Linked DNA regions of Homo sapiens: region 2 is linked to region 1. The links are contacts of gene promoters, found by promoter capture Hi-C in human tissues and cell types (Jung and others, 2019). All regions are on one chromosome and are shown on one strand. The core of a region is centred on a gene start or on the middle of the fragment in contact, and the rest is flanking DNA. Distances in the headings are between cores, read along the strand shown. Region 1 holds the start of PSMA5 (proteasome 20S subunit alpha 5). Region 2 overlaps ELAPOR1 (endosome-lysosome associated apoptosis and autophagy regulator 1).

Region 1 (7,603 bases), core at 2,048-4,547:
GCTTTTGGCCTGGCGTGGTGGCTCACGCCTGTAATCCCAGCACGTTGGGAGGATGAGGCAGGCGGATCACCTGAGGTCAGGAGTTCGAGACCAGGCTGGCCAACAAGGTGAAACCCCGTCTCTACTAAAAACACATAAATTAGCTGGGCGTGGTGGCAGGTGCCTGTAATCCCAGCTACTTGAGAGGCTAAGGCATGAGAATCACTTGAACCCAGGAGGCGGAGGTTGCAGTGAGCCGAGATGGTGCCACTACACTCCAGCCTGGGAGAGTGCTAAGCACAAGTTACTTCCAAATCTCTACTACCAGTTTCACCTCTTTCCTAACTAATTTAAATGTTTGCTGAACATTTCCACTTGCATATCCTATTAGCACTTAACACTTAACGTTTTCCAGTTTGAAATATTATCTCTTTAAATCCAGCCACCTTGCAAAATTGACTTCATCTCCTGCCATTCCAATTTCAGTTTTAATTTAAAACATCTCAAATCTTCCAGTGTTCCCAACATACGAAGTTCTAAATGATCTGACTCATTCCTCCCCATCTTTTCCCATATCCAACTATATGCTAAGTCATACCAATTCATATCAATTCCTCCTCCACAGTAACACATCACTCTTCCTTCTCAATGCCCTCATTACCTTTCACCTAACTATTGTTAATAGCCTAACACTAACAGGTATTGACTCACTTTCCCCTAATTCAGACAATTAATCTCTGTAAAACACAATTATTATTTAACAGCACACAGTTGCCTACAGAAATAGGACCCAAACTCCTTAGCCTCGTATTAAAAACCATTCAATATCTAGCAGCATCCTGTTTTTCCCATTATCTCCTGCTGTTCCCATACACGTATCATATGTGCCAGTCAGACTGGACTTTTCCCAAAATGTATTGTGCTTTTCCATTGCCCCTCCTTCATTTATCCCATATTCTCCAACCCACAACTATTGATCTCACTGTCTTTATTAAATTCCTACTCTTTCAAGAAACCTAGTTTAAATGTCAGCTCCTTTGTGAAGTTTTCCATGATCGTCTCATATTGAATGCAATCCCTCATCAAAACTTCCATGGTATTGATTTGAATTTCTCTAATGGCATTAATATATTTCTGACTCACACTATAGTTACTTCTGTAAACAATTCTTTTTTTTTTTTGGAGACAAGGTCAGCGCCACCACACCCGGCTGATATTTTTTAATGTTTAGTAGAGATGAGGTCTCACTATGTTGCCCAGGCTGGTCTCCAACTCCTGAGCTCAGGCAATCCTGCCTCGGCCTTCCAAAGTGCTGGAATTACAGGCATGAGCCACTGTACCTGTAAACAATTCTTTAAGAGTCTCAGGCCGAGCGAGGTGGCTCTCGCCTGTAATCCCAGCACTTTGGGAGGCCAAGGCAGGTGGACCACGAGGTCAGGAGTTCAAGACCAGCCTGGCCAAGATGAGGAAACCCTGTCTCTACTAAAAACACAAAAATTAGCCGGGCGTGGTGGCACCGCCTGTAATCCCAGCTACTCAGGACGCTGAGTCAGAGAATTGCTTAAACCCAGGCGGCAGGCCAGGCGCGGTGGCTCACTCCTGTAATCCCAGCACTTTGGGAGGCCAAGGCAGGTGGATCACGAGGTCAAAAGATCGAGACCATCCTGGCCAACATGGTGAAACCCTGTCTCTACTAAAAATACAAAAATTAGCTGGGAGTGGTGGCGCGCGCCTGTAGTCCCAGCTACTCGGGAGGCTGAGGCAGGAGAATCGCTTGAACCCAGGAGGCGGAGGTTGCAGTGAGCCGAGATCATGCCACTGCACTGCAGCCTGGCGACAGAGCGAGACTCCGTCTCAAAAACAAACAAAACCCAGGAGGGGGAGGTTGCAGTGAGCCAAGATCACGTCACTGCACTCCAGCCTGGGCCACAGAGCGAGACTGTCTCAAAAGAGTCTCCTATATGCGAGCAAGGAGCTTGATTTTGTCCATTGCTGTAGCACCAGCACCTAGAACAGTGCCTTGTTCACAGCAAGCACTCAAGCACATTAACTAAGAGAATAAAAAGGGATGTATTTTAGGCCGTCTTGGGAAGACAGAAAAATAAGTAACAAAGCAGTCAATACATATGTTAAGTAAATGGCCACAAAATTTAATAAATGCCTTCTGATAAGCATAACAATTTCTATCATACACACCCTAACTCAAAATTATGTCACCCGAAGATGATTCTCTTCAATGTTCTGGAAGTTAAATATCGACCAACAAAGTCACTTTATAGGACAGTGGGGAAATATGTCAAAACTTCACACACATCTTCTACGAGTCAGTAAAAAAGATGAAAAAGTGGTAACTGCAGGTGGTAAAACTTCGACAGGATCAGCATATACTTGACAGGAAATGCAGCATCTCATACCACTCAGTACAAAGAAAATGTCTGCCTTCCCTGACTTTAAAAAAGAGTAGCTATGTAAAAACTTAACTGACGAAAACAGAAACTGAAAGTAAAAATGTCTACAGCATATATATGTACAACTTAATATTGTGAACATTTTCATACCACAAAAGTTTTTTAAAACTTGCTTTAAACTTTTAAAAAGTCAGAAAAAATTTTGGTCAATTGGAATCGGCATGATGAGAAATCTCTTGAAAACCATTCTAAATTCCAGTTCCTATAAAATCAGACTCCAGACAATATATCCAGCCAAAGCTACGACTGCCTTCGCGCTTCTGAAGAAACTATACACCGCAGCATGCCCTACTACAAACCAGTTGCTTTTTCTTCCAGGAAGCACGTTTAACTTTTTGTTTGTTTGTTCAAGGCAGTCATACTAGGCACGAAAAGATGAACGGAGCAAAGAGTGACCCTTGGCCTTCTCCGGGTTCAAGGTAGGAGTTCCGGCTCCTCACGCCTTCTTTACCAAGCACCAGCCGGAGCTTCTCGCTTCCGCACCGAGTTAGGACCCAGGGGTGACTCAGCGGTAGGACAAGTGCCGCCGATGTGGTCTAGCTTGGGGAAGGACGGCGGGCGCCTGAGGAGGGCATAACATCCCCAGGTCCGGCCAGTCTCGGGTTCCTGGGGAGCCCCATGACACGGCAGAACCCAGGCCGCGCGGCCAGGTCCCGGGCCTGCCCACCCATAATTCCCACCCGACGTCCCCCAGCTGCACGGACCTGTCGTACTCAGACCGGGTAAGAAACATGGCGAGGGTAGGAGGAGGCAGCGGCTACGCGGGGATTCTGAGGACCAACACGACTCCACCGGCACCCAACTCACCGGCAGCCAACTCACCCACACGGCCGCAGTACTAAGGACCAACTGCGCGTGCGACCGCGACCTCTTTAGCCCGCCCTCCTGTGCCTGCTTCCTATTGGCTGGTAGTAGTTCCCGCCTAGGTGATTGGGCCAACGCGCTTCCTCACGAGGGCTTGGTTGGTCCGGAGGAGGAGGAGGACCAGGGAGGTACTTCCGCCTTAAATCGCGGGTGGTTGCTAGGGACGATAGGCACCCAAGGCGTGTAGTGAGTTCGCCTTGTAGAGAAGATGTGAGCCCGCCCCAAGACTGGCAATTGGAAAGGCTTGCATGCAGAGCTGGGTTGTCTGAACCCTGACATAATAGGTCCCTCGCCGGCTCCCGTAATCCCAGCTAGAGGACTTTGGTCCCGTTTCCGGCAAGGCCACCACCTGACTTCTCTTCGCAGGATTCCCTCTCTTAGGGTTCCTCCACGGTGTTCTCCATGCCCGGTCGAGGGCTCCAGGACTTTGGGCGGTAATGAGTCGGCTACAGTGGGTCTGAGCCGGCGCCGCGGACGAGTCCCTTCGTTTCAGCCAGTTTGGCTCGTTTATTGAGAAAAGTGGGGGGCGAGGGGTTAGTATGTAAGAAAGTCTTAAAGTTTCCACATGGTTAAGGTAATTTTATCAACTCTTTCTTGCACCCCTCCCCCTAGTACAGGTTTCAGACCTAAATAACCTAGAGTTCAGGATCCAGACTTCAAAATATTCACTGCTTTTTCTGTTGTTTGTGAAAAATAAGTGTTTTCTTTGAGCCCAGATCGTGCTATTGCACTCCAGCCTGGGCAACAGCCAAACCCTATCCGAAAAAAAAAAAAAAAAAAAAAGCGCTTTCTTTTTCGACGCTTCTTGCTTCCCTTCAATAAGTTGCTTGAGGAGCAACTTTGCAGCTTCGTAATAACACTGTAATTCAAGTATTTGTTCAAGAAAGGCAAGTAAGAAGTCTTGGCACGGGGGTGGGGAATATAGGGAAATGTTGGTCAAATGATACAAAGTTTCAGTCAGAGAAGGTGGATGAGTTCTATAGTTAATAATCATATATTGTGTACTTGAAATTGTGAAGAGGGTACACCTTAAATGTTCTCACCACAGGAAAGTATGTGAGATGATGGATTATGTTGATTAGCTTCATTTAATTATTTGCAGTGTGTGTGTGTATATATATGTATATCAAAACGTCACGTTGTATACCATAAACATGAACAATTTCTATTTGTCACTTACACCTTAAAGCTGGAGTCGGGGGAAAGAAATCATTTATCAGGCAGTATATGCTGGAAAGGGAAATGCCAGCATCTCATTTCCAGTTGTTAATGTGATACCACTAGTCAAGTCCTTAACCTCTCAAGGCCTGTATCTCTCCAGTAAAGTTCATTCTTGGTCCTAGATTAGGTTTGTAAGTCACCAAGGCATTTCAAAGGTGCAGGAAATGTAAAAATAAGCCTTTTGAGTATTAACCAAGATTAGTTTTCCCCACCCTTTATTTTCTGACTTCCTTCATGGATTCAGTAGGAGTTTAGTTTGGTCATCCCTGGCCAATCAGATGTTTAGCACTAATAAAACTGAGGAAGAACTCCAAGTAGCAATCCTCTGGGATCTGTTAGATTTCTGAGAAAAGAATGGTAATTTTTAGCTTTCTTGTCAGCTTTCTGACAAGCTTTTTTTTTTTTTCACCTTATCAGTTATTTTCTATGGAAAAGTCTTGGTCGTAAATTCACTACAGCTGCTCTTTAGAAGTTCTTTTATGGCCAGGCACAGGGGCTCACGCCTGTAATCCCAGTACTTTGGGAGGCCGAGGTGGGTGGATCACGAGGTCAGGAGTTCAAGACCAGCCTGGCCAAGATGGTGAAACCCTGTCTCTACTAAAAATACAAAAATTAGCTGGGCGTGATGTTGGGTGCCTGTGATCCCAGCTACTCGGAAGGCTGAGGCAGAGAGTTGCTTGAACCTGGGAGGCAGAGGTTGCGGTGAGCCAAGATCTCACCACTGCACTCCAGCCTGAGCAACAGAGTGAGACTCCATCTCAAAAAAAAACCAAAAAAAACGGAGTTATTTTACTACGTAGGTACTTTAGCATAATATTTCCTGAGCACCCAGGGTTCCATGGTGCTCTGCAGACCCTATCAATGTCAGAGACAGTAGTGAATTGCTTACGAAATGTTCTTGAATGTAGAATCTCCTCTGGGTAAATGTGTTTGTGCTATATATAACATAAATGAAGGGGAGCTGCAGGTAATTGTGGATAGGAAGGAAAATCTTTTCTCCCAAGAGAGTGCATTGTAACAATCTAGCAGCTAGCATAATGTGTCTTTGAAAGAAATAAAATGAGAAATTAGCTATTTAAAAGTAATTGAAGTTAAAATGTGTGTACGTACAAAGGAATATTGTTCACCCTTTAAAAAGGAATGAAATTCTGATACATGCTACAACTTGGATTAGACTTGAAGACCTTATGCTAGGCGAAATCTCAAGACACAGAAAGACAAATATTGTATGATTCTACTTATGTTCGGTACCTAGAATAGTCAAATTCATAGAAACAGAAAGTAGAATAGTGATTATCTAGGGCTGGAGGAAAAGGGGAATGAGGAGTTAATGGGTTTAATGGGTACACCATTTCAGTTTGGGATGATAATGAAGTTCTGGAGATGGATTGTAGTGATGGTTGCACAACAGTGTGAATGTATTTAATGTCACTGAATTGTACACTTAAAAATGGTTAAAATGGTAAGTTTTATGTTAGGATATTTTACCACAACAGAAATAATTTTTTAAGTTAAAGGGGGGAAAAAGGAAAATAATGGAAATGTGAGTTCTTTGAGGGTCAGTACTCTCTTGTTCAGCCTAGCACCTGGCATATGCTCTAGATACATTTGTTTAGTAAATAAGTATTTATTTTTTTAACTTTTATTTTAAGTCCAGGGTGTATGTGCAGGATGTGCAGGTTTGTTATATAGGTAAACGTGTGCCATGGGGATCTGCTGTACACACCATTTCGTCACCCAGGTATCAAGCCTAGTATCCACCAGTCATTTCTCCTGATCCCCTCCCTCCTGCCACCCTCCGCCCTCCAGTAGGCCCCAGTATGTGTTGTTCCCCTCCGTGTGTCCATGTGTTCTCATCATTGAGCTCTCACTTGTAAGTGAGAACATGTGGTATTTGGTTTCTGTTCCTACATTAGTTTGCTAAGGATAATGGCCTCCAGATAAGGATTGATTGATTGATTGATTGCTATAGGCATACTAGTTCCATAGACATTAATATATGTGTGACTTGGAGAAGTAGAGTAAGTAGAAAATTCAGAATTTCAAATAGCCACTTTAAAATGTTTTTAAGTACTGTATTTCTTTAAATTTTTTAAATAAAATAGACAAAAGTTTGGTTGGCTACACCTTTTTAGGTGAAATATACTGAGAGATGCGGACTCTTCCTCATTGGAGAAATGTAAGTTATTTAGACATTAATAAAAGTTCTGCGTTCACCCATAGAGTGAGAGTTCTCAAATATTTTGGTACTATTTTGCACATTTTTGCAAAGAAAGGAAGATCATCCTTAATTGAAAGCTGCCATGATTATTTTACAGATGAAACAAACTGTATTGCAGTAAAGATACTTTTTCAACTATAGATTGGAAGCTGTGTCATTCTACTGGAAGTAAATGAAGTAGTTTGGTAAAGTTAATAGCCCGATAAATGTTGAAAATACTCACATTTGTTAGCAAACATCATATATGAGTACTTTGTGTCAGACATTCCTGGGTGAGGCAGAAAATATGTGGAGAATTTAAAAAGTGATTCCAAATAAATTTAGGTCCCTTTGCTCTTTCTAAATATTACATTCCCCAAATCCATTTATCCACATTTATCTCTAGTAACTACAATTTGTTTATGTAAAAAGACATTTTAGATTTGGCTGCTTCCCTGTGTGTCATTTTTTACTTCAATCACTTTGTAGAGTATTTTTAAATAACAAAGGTTTTTAACTCAAGGATATAGAGAGGTTTAGCTAGCTTTGATTCTTGCAAACCCCTGAAGAAATAGAAAATGAACAGTTCTGGCCAGTGACTTAGCATGGCAAGAGTACTAATGCAGGCCCATTGCTGCATAATCTGGGACTACTCTAATGGGAAACTTTGGCTTATAGACGCCCCCATCAGCCTAGCTGAAATTTTCTTAGAACTGCGCTGCAGTCTGAGACCCTGCCTGTGCAATCCTTTCTTTTCTCTCTCCTTCATAGGTGCCAGACTTATATCACAGTCTGGAGCATCTCCCACCTTCTCCTGCTCTCATCCCTTTTATCCTTCATAGATGTTTCTGCCAATTGATCTCTTACATGT
Region 2 (6,589 bases), core at 843-3,342, 260 kb before region 1:
GCCACTGCACCCAGCCTCATCTCCTTAAATCCAGTCACAGTACTTTCCCGCTCAAAACCCTAGATTCAATGGCTACCAATTGCTCTTGGGATAAAGTCCACTACCTTCCCACAGCCTGCAGGGCCCTGCTGCCCTGCCCCCTGCCCTCTGCTTGTTTCCCCAGCCTCTCCCAAGTTCCTTCTGTCTTCACTTGCTGTGTTCCAGCCACACTGACCATCACACTCCTTCCCCTCCTCAGGGCATTTGAACATGTGACTCTCTGTCCCCTCTTCTATGTCTCCTACTTAACCCTCAGGTCTCTACCTAAAAATCCCTTCCTCAAAGAAACCATCCCCGACCCCACAGACTCCTGTTACACTCTCTTTATCATCCTGCATTTCTCCAATGGCACTTATCACAGTCATTGCTATGTGATTGTGTGATTAGTTAAGCTTCTGTCTCCTCAACTAGAAAGAGAATGCAAGCCCCAAGAGGGAAAGGATCATACTTGTCTTGTTCATCACTGTGTCTCCAGCATCTAACATAGTGTCTGGCTCAAAATAGACAAAATAAATAATTGGGGACAAAACAGACCAGCTGAACGGAGTCTCCATGGCAGGATTCTGAGCCTTCAGGGATCCTCCCATGGGTCCTGGGTTGATGTCCCAGGGCTAAGGTACTGGCCTGAGATCAGAAACTAGGATAAGCTAAGGGAACAGGAGTGACGTGGGTGTAATAGAAAGAATGTCATATATTAGTGGAAAAGATCAAGCAGACGCCCAAAGACTGTGACAGTGAAACAAGAATGAGAGAGAAATGTAAACATTAAAAATGAAAAACATTATATGCAGATCACAACTGGATGACCTAGGGTAAGTTTCCTAAGCACTTCTGGGCTTCAGTTTCTTCATTCTAAAAATGATGATAAAAATAGTACTCTTATAGTTGAGGTAAGGATTGATGAGATGATACTTGTAAAGAATTTAGAGCGATGCCTGACACTAGAAATCAATCAAAACATGTTGTTATTATTGAATATGAAATGTCTTCACCGGGGGCAATTCTGACAAAAATCAGAATTATGATGCATTTTGCAAATGTAACCCACTTATGGCATCTTTTAAATTATTTATTAAACTTCAAGAGTTATTTATAGCTGATGTCGTGGAGCATATCAGCATTAAAGGTTATCCCTTTCAACAAGGAGAAATCAATGCTGTTAGGTTAGCTGGGATATTTTGGATGAGCTCATGTTATATGTTTTCGTTTTGAGAATAACACTGACTGTCAAAGAGCTGAAAATAACCATGTTATTCTGACAAACACAGGGGGAAATCTGTGGACTAATCTGAGATTCCTTTAACTGGCTATTATTATTATTATTTTGATATGGAGTCTCGCTTTATCACCCAGGCTGGAGTGCAATGGCACAATCTCGGCTCACTGCAACCTCCGCCTCCCAAGTTCAAGTGATTCTCCTGCCTCAGCCTCCTGAGGAGCTGGGATTACAGCCACGTGCCACAACACCCAGCTAATTTTTGCATTTTTAGTAGAGATGGGGTTTCACCATGTTGGTCAGGCTGGTCTCGATGGTCTCGAACTCCTCACCTCAGGTGATCCACCCGCCTCAGCCTCCCAAAGTGCTGCGATTACAGGCATGAGCCACCACGCCCACCCAACTGGCCATTATTAAGCAACTGGAAACCTGGGCTGGTCTCAGGCAAAACAGTGCAATAGCGTGAGTGTTTTCGATTACCTGTTTCCACATTCAACTCTTTAACCCTGTGACTCCCCACTATGTGCCAGGTCCAGGCTGGTGCTGGGAATACTTTAGTGAGTAAGGTAAATTTGGTCTCTTCCCTCACATAATATTGGCAACAATTTTGAGGTCTGACAGTTTCAAATTTGGAGAGGATGTGGAGCAACAGGAACAGTGTAGCAGTAGCTGGTAAATGGGAGGCTCACATACAGTTCTCCTCCCAGGCTTTCTACTCAGACATGTGCCTAAGGAGACAGGAACACAGCAGAATGTGCACATGAAACTGCAAACAATCCAAATGTCCATCAACGAGTAATGCACAAATATATATGGCAGAGCCGTACAAAGGAATGTTATGCAGTAGTAAAGACGAAGCCAAAAAAGCTGGATGTGTGAATATGGATGAATCTCACAGTTAGTATATTGAAGTCCCTTCCTTCCCAAAGTGAGTTTCAGAGCCCATAAATATAATACCATTTATGTGAAGCTTGAAAACATGCGAAGCACTACCATACAGTATGTTGTTTAGAGATACATACATGTAGAGAACCGCATGCGCATGTTAAACACCAGATTCAGGAAATTAGTCACTTGGCAGTGGGGAAGGCAGTGTGTTCCAGGAAAAGGGATGAGGTTAGTGGAGGGTACGCAGAGGCTTCTGCTGTGTTGAACTTCTTAAGCAGGGTGATGGGTCGGGGAGTGTTCATTACACCATTGTATAGGTCTTACATATTTCATAATATACTAAAAATATATAAAATATCATGGGATTATGGCTATGAGAAGGAGAGCAAAGAGAGCTAAGGGCACCCATAGCAGAAGCAGATAGAATCAAGGAAGACTTTTTAGATTAAGTGACATTTAAGACACAGTAGGAGTTAAACTGAGAGAGAGAGGAGGAAGTTCATTCCAGGAAGAGGGAAGAGGATGTCAGGAGGCCCAGAGGTAAGAGAAAGCTTGGCAGAGGAATTGAAAGAAATGTCATAGAGTTGAAGTATATAGAGTGCATCAGGAATTTGTACCCTATCCTAAGGGCCACAGGGAGTCAGTCCCAGGGGTTTTAATTTGAAGCAAGGGAGTGCCATGGTCAGACGTCTATTCTGGAGGATCTGTCCGCTGGGCTGCAGCATGCAGAGGGCTTGGAGGATGTGGGACTGGCTTCAGGGAGACAAGTTTGGGGGCTGGTTCATAGATGGTGTGGTGGTGAGTGTAGGGAGAGCCCGTGGACAGGGTGGATAGAGTGAACACGTATTTAGGAGATAAAACAGACATGACCAGGTTGGCTGTCTCCAGGGTTCTCCGGCCCTCCTTGTTTCCATAAAAACCATTTACATGCAGCATCTTATAGTAGACATTTCTGGAAAAACAGGTAGACTAGACTGGGTGGATGTCTGAGTTCTGAAGAATATCTGTGTCTACTGAGTTATTTGACAGCTTTAGAGTTTGGCAGACCTGATTTCAGCCCTGCCACTCGCTGCTTCGTAATACTGGGCTTGGCACTCTCCAAGCCCCAGTTTCATCATCTCTTAAACAGAAAAAACATTTCCTCTTATTGATGAAAATAAATCATGAATATAAAGCACGTAGTTCAATTCCTGGAAGGTAGTAAGCAACCAATAAATGTTACCCCTCCCTGACTAGGCGCAGTGGCTCATGCCTGTAATCCCAGCCCTTTTTGAGGCCGAGGTGGGTGGATCACTTGAGGTCAGGAGTTCGAGACCAGGCTGGCCAACATGGTGAAAACCTGTCTCTACTAAAAAAAAATACAGAAATTAGCTGGGTGTGGTGGTGCATGCCTGTAATCCTAGCTACTCGGGAGGCTGAGACAGGAGAATTGCTTGAACCCGGGAGGCAGAGGTTGTGGTGAGCCGAGGCCACGCCACTGCACTCCAGCCTGGGAGACAGAGCGAGACTCTGCCTCAAAAAAAAAAAGATGTTAGCCCTCCCCAACTTCACCTGCCACCCGTATCCCAGGTAGCTCTGCACAATGTGGAGGCATGCCTGCTTGTTTTCCTCACCTGTCTGCCTTCCTCTTCTTAGCTGTACTCCAGGTCCTTGACCTACCTGAGAGCTTCTTTTGTCTTTCTTCACTGAGCATTTTCAGGTCCAAGTTTCAGTTTGTGAATCACAAGCCTGAAAATTCCCAAAGACCCAGCAGAACATGAGACCTGCACATGGCACAAAGCCTGGTGGGCTGTGCTCCTGCCTGTGAACCTGGTTCCTGTTCCTTCACAGGTCCAAGTGGGTTCCCCGGGGCGACTACATCGCCTCCAACACGGACGAATGCACAGCCACACTGATGTACGCCGTCAACCTGAAGCAATCTGGCACCGTTAACTTCGAATACTACTATCCAGACTCCAGCATCATCTTTGAGTTTTTCGTAAGCCCCTGGCCAAGGTGGAGGGTGGGAGCTAAAAAGCCTCTCTGGGGTTCAGATCCGTTTGAGGAATCCATCATGAGTGTAGCCCTGCTTGGGGGAATCACTGTTGTTTTCTCTCTGGAGAGAGCTGTGGGCAAAATGAGCTGAGGCCCAGGAGGCAAGAAGAAAAGGCAAAAGTGAAAGGACTATTGGGGGAAGAATTGTCTGGCAGATTTCTAAGTGTTTTATCCAGCTCAGACATGAAAACAGCACATCTGAGTTACAAGTTATTTCTTTGGTGTCAACGCTCATTTTGTGTGTGTGACTAACTCCTGCCCTACTTTGAGGCTCATGTGTTTTGAGCTCAATCCCTAAAGGAAATTGGCAACTCTTCCCATATAAAGAAGGGCCCTCTGGAGGGCTGGTGCAATGTGGGGAAAGGTATCCATTTCCTTAGAAAGCTGAGACTCTGGTCCCAAACTCTTTTTATGTCAGGTTCAGAATGACCAGTGCCAGCCCAATGCAGATGACTCCAGGTGGATGAAGACCACAGAGAAAGGATGGGAATTCCACAGTGTGAGTATCACACCAGCCTTCTCCCAGAGATCCCAGAAAAGGGACCCAGGGCCTTTCCTCAGAGAGTGCTTCCTCCCAGTCTGAGCCTCCACCCCAATGTCCCTGGAGGGCAGGAATGTGATATGATGAAGATGCTGTAGTTACTGTCCTCTAGCATTGACAGAATATGGGTGTGAGCTGACTTGTAGCTTCTATGGCTTGACTCCAAAGACCAGCAGCTTTCCAGCTTTAAGACTGGGTCTTCTGCCGGGCATGGTGGCTCATGCCTGTAATCCCAGCACTTTGGGAGGTCGAGGCAGGTGGATCACCTGAGGTCAGGAGTTCGAGACCAGCCTGACCAACATGGAGAAACCCCATCTCTACTAAAAATACAAAAAAATTAGCCAGGTATGGTGGCCCATGCTTGTAATCCCAGCTACTCGGGAGGCTGAGGCAGGAGACTCGCTTGAACCCAGGAGGCGGAGGTTGTGGTGAGCTGAGATCGAGCCATTGCACTCCAGCCTGGGCAACAAAAGCGAAACTCTGTCTCAAAAAAAAAAAAAAAAAAAAAAAGACTGGGTATTCTGGGGAGGGGGGCTGTCCCCCTGCAAAACCACAGAAGAATGAGGGAGTGCCAGTCACCCTGTTGTCAGGACCCTCAGGTCTCTTTACTGGTCTCACCATAAGAGATGCTCATGGTATATATGATCCAGGGAGTGGTGGGAGGGTTGTAAGAGGAGGCTTAGAAAGAGAGAGGAGCTGTGCTAAGTTGGGAAGAAGGACAGAGCTGAGGAAGAGGAGGAAGAGGGTCAGAAGAAGCATTACCATGCAGTTAGTAAGAGAAGTCATCCCAACAAGAGGCTATACCAACAGATTAGCGAGATTTTTCTCTGTGATGAATGAATGCTCCTGTTTGTGGTTTTTAGGTGGAGCTAAATCGAGGCAATAATGTCCTCTATTGGAGAACCACAGCCTTCTCAGTATGGACCAAAGTACCCAAGCCTGTGCTGGTGAGAAACATTGCCATAACAGGTACTGAGAGCAGGGTTACTGACTTCCTGGGCTGTTGACTTTGCAGTCTCCTGGGGACTCAGTCTCCAGGCTGAATCCTTGCTTTTCTGTGCTCTTCCTCCTCCCTAGGGGTGGCCTACACTTCAGAATGCTTCCCCTGCAAACCTGGCACGTATGCAGACAAGCAGGGCTCCTCTTTCTGCAAACTTTGCCCAGCCAACTCTTATTCAAATAAAGGAGAAACTTCTTGCCACCAGTGTGACCCTGACAAATACTCAGGTGATGTTTCTGAGGGTGGGAAGAGTTTGGGGATAGAGAGTACCACCAAAACACACAAGGAGATACCAGGGAATAGAGCCATCCTTCTGGCCAAGCTGAGGATGGTAATTCTTAAACCCTTCCTTTCTGGATCCTGGAATACCCTTGCCAATCCATATATCCATTAATCACTTTGTCATTTTTTTTTTTTTTTGAGATAGGGTCTCACTTTATCACCCAGGCTGAAGTGCCGTGGTGCGATCATAGCTCACTGCAGCCTCAAACTCCCTGTCCCAAGCAATCCTCCCGCCTCAGCCTCCTGAGTAGCTAAGACTACCAGCGTGCCCCACCACACCCAGCTAATTTTTTATTTTTATTTTTATAGAGACAGGGGTCTTGCTAGTTGCCCAGGCTGGTCTTGAACTCCTGGGCTCAAGTGATCCTCCTGCCTCAGCCTCTCAAGCTGTGAGCCTATAATCTCAGCACTTTGGGAGGTCAAACCGGGAAGATCAATTGGGCCTAGGAGGTTGAAGCTTCAGTGAGCCATGATCACACCACTGCACTACAGCCTGGGTGACAGAGTAAGACCCTGTCTCTAAAAAAAAAAAAAAAAAAAAAAAAAAAAAAAAAAATCATTCAATAAATATTGAGCCTCTCCTATCTAC

Evidence for each region. The method cuts DNA at HindIII sites, captures the fragments that hold promoters and counts their contacts. A contact is called where the count stands out against the background at its distance.
Region 2: a contact is called between a fragment that was not itself captured here and the fragment with the promoter of PSMA5 in region 1, in 2 of the 25 tissues and cell types used here (dorsolateral prefrontal cortex and hippocampus).

The regions. Positions count from the first base shown.
Region 1 is chr1:109,423,151-109,430,753 of GRCh38, forward strand. It overlaps PSMA5 (proteasome 20S subunit alpha 5), which reads right to left and starts at 3,298. Exons shown (of 9, transcript NM_002790.4): 1 at 3,152-3,298. The coding sequence starts at 3,180. RefSeq lists enhancers at 3,361-4,292, 3,799-3,858. The HindIII fragment of the contact is 7,725 bases long and covers 1-6,646 here.
Region 2 is chr1:109,167,893-109,174,481 of GRCh38, forward strand. ELAPOR1 (endosome-lysosome associated apoptosis and autophagy regulator 1) reads left to right here. Exons shown (of 22, transcript NM_020775.5): 4 at 3,974-4,121; 5 at 4,596-4,676; 6 at 5,582-5,687; 7 at 5,796-5,945. Among named protein-coding and RNA genes, the nearest start is that of SARS1, 43 kb to the right of the region's middle. The HindIII fragment of the contact is 4,966 bases long and covers 1-4,575 here.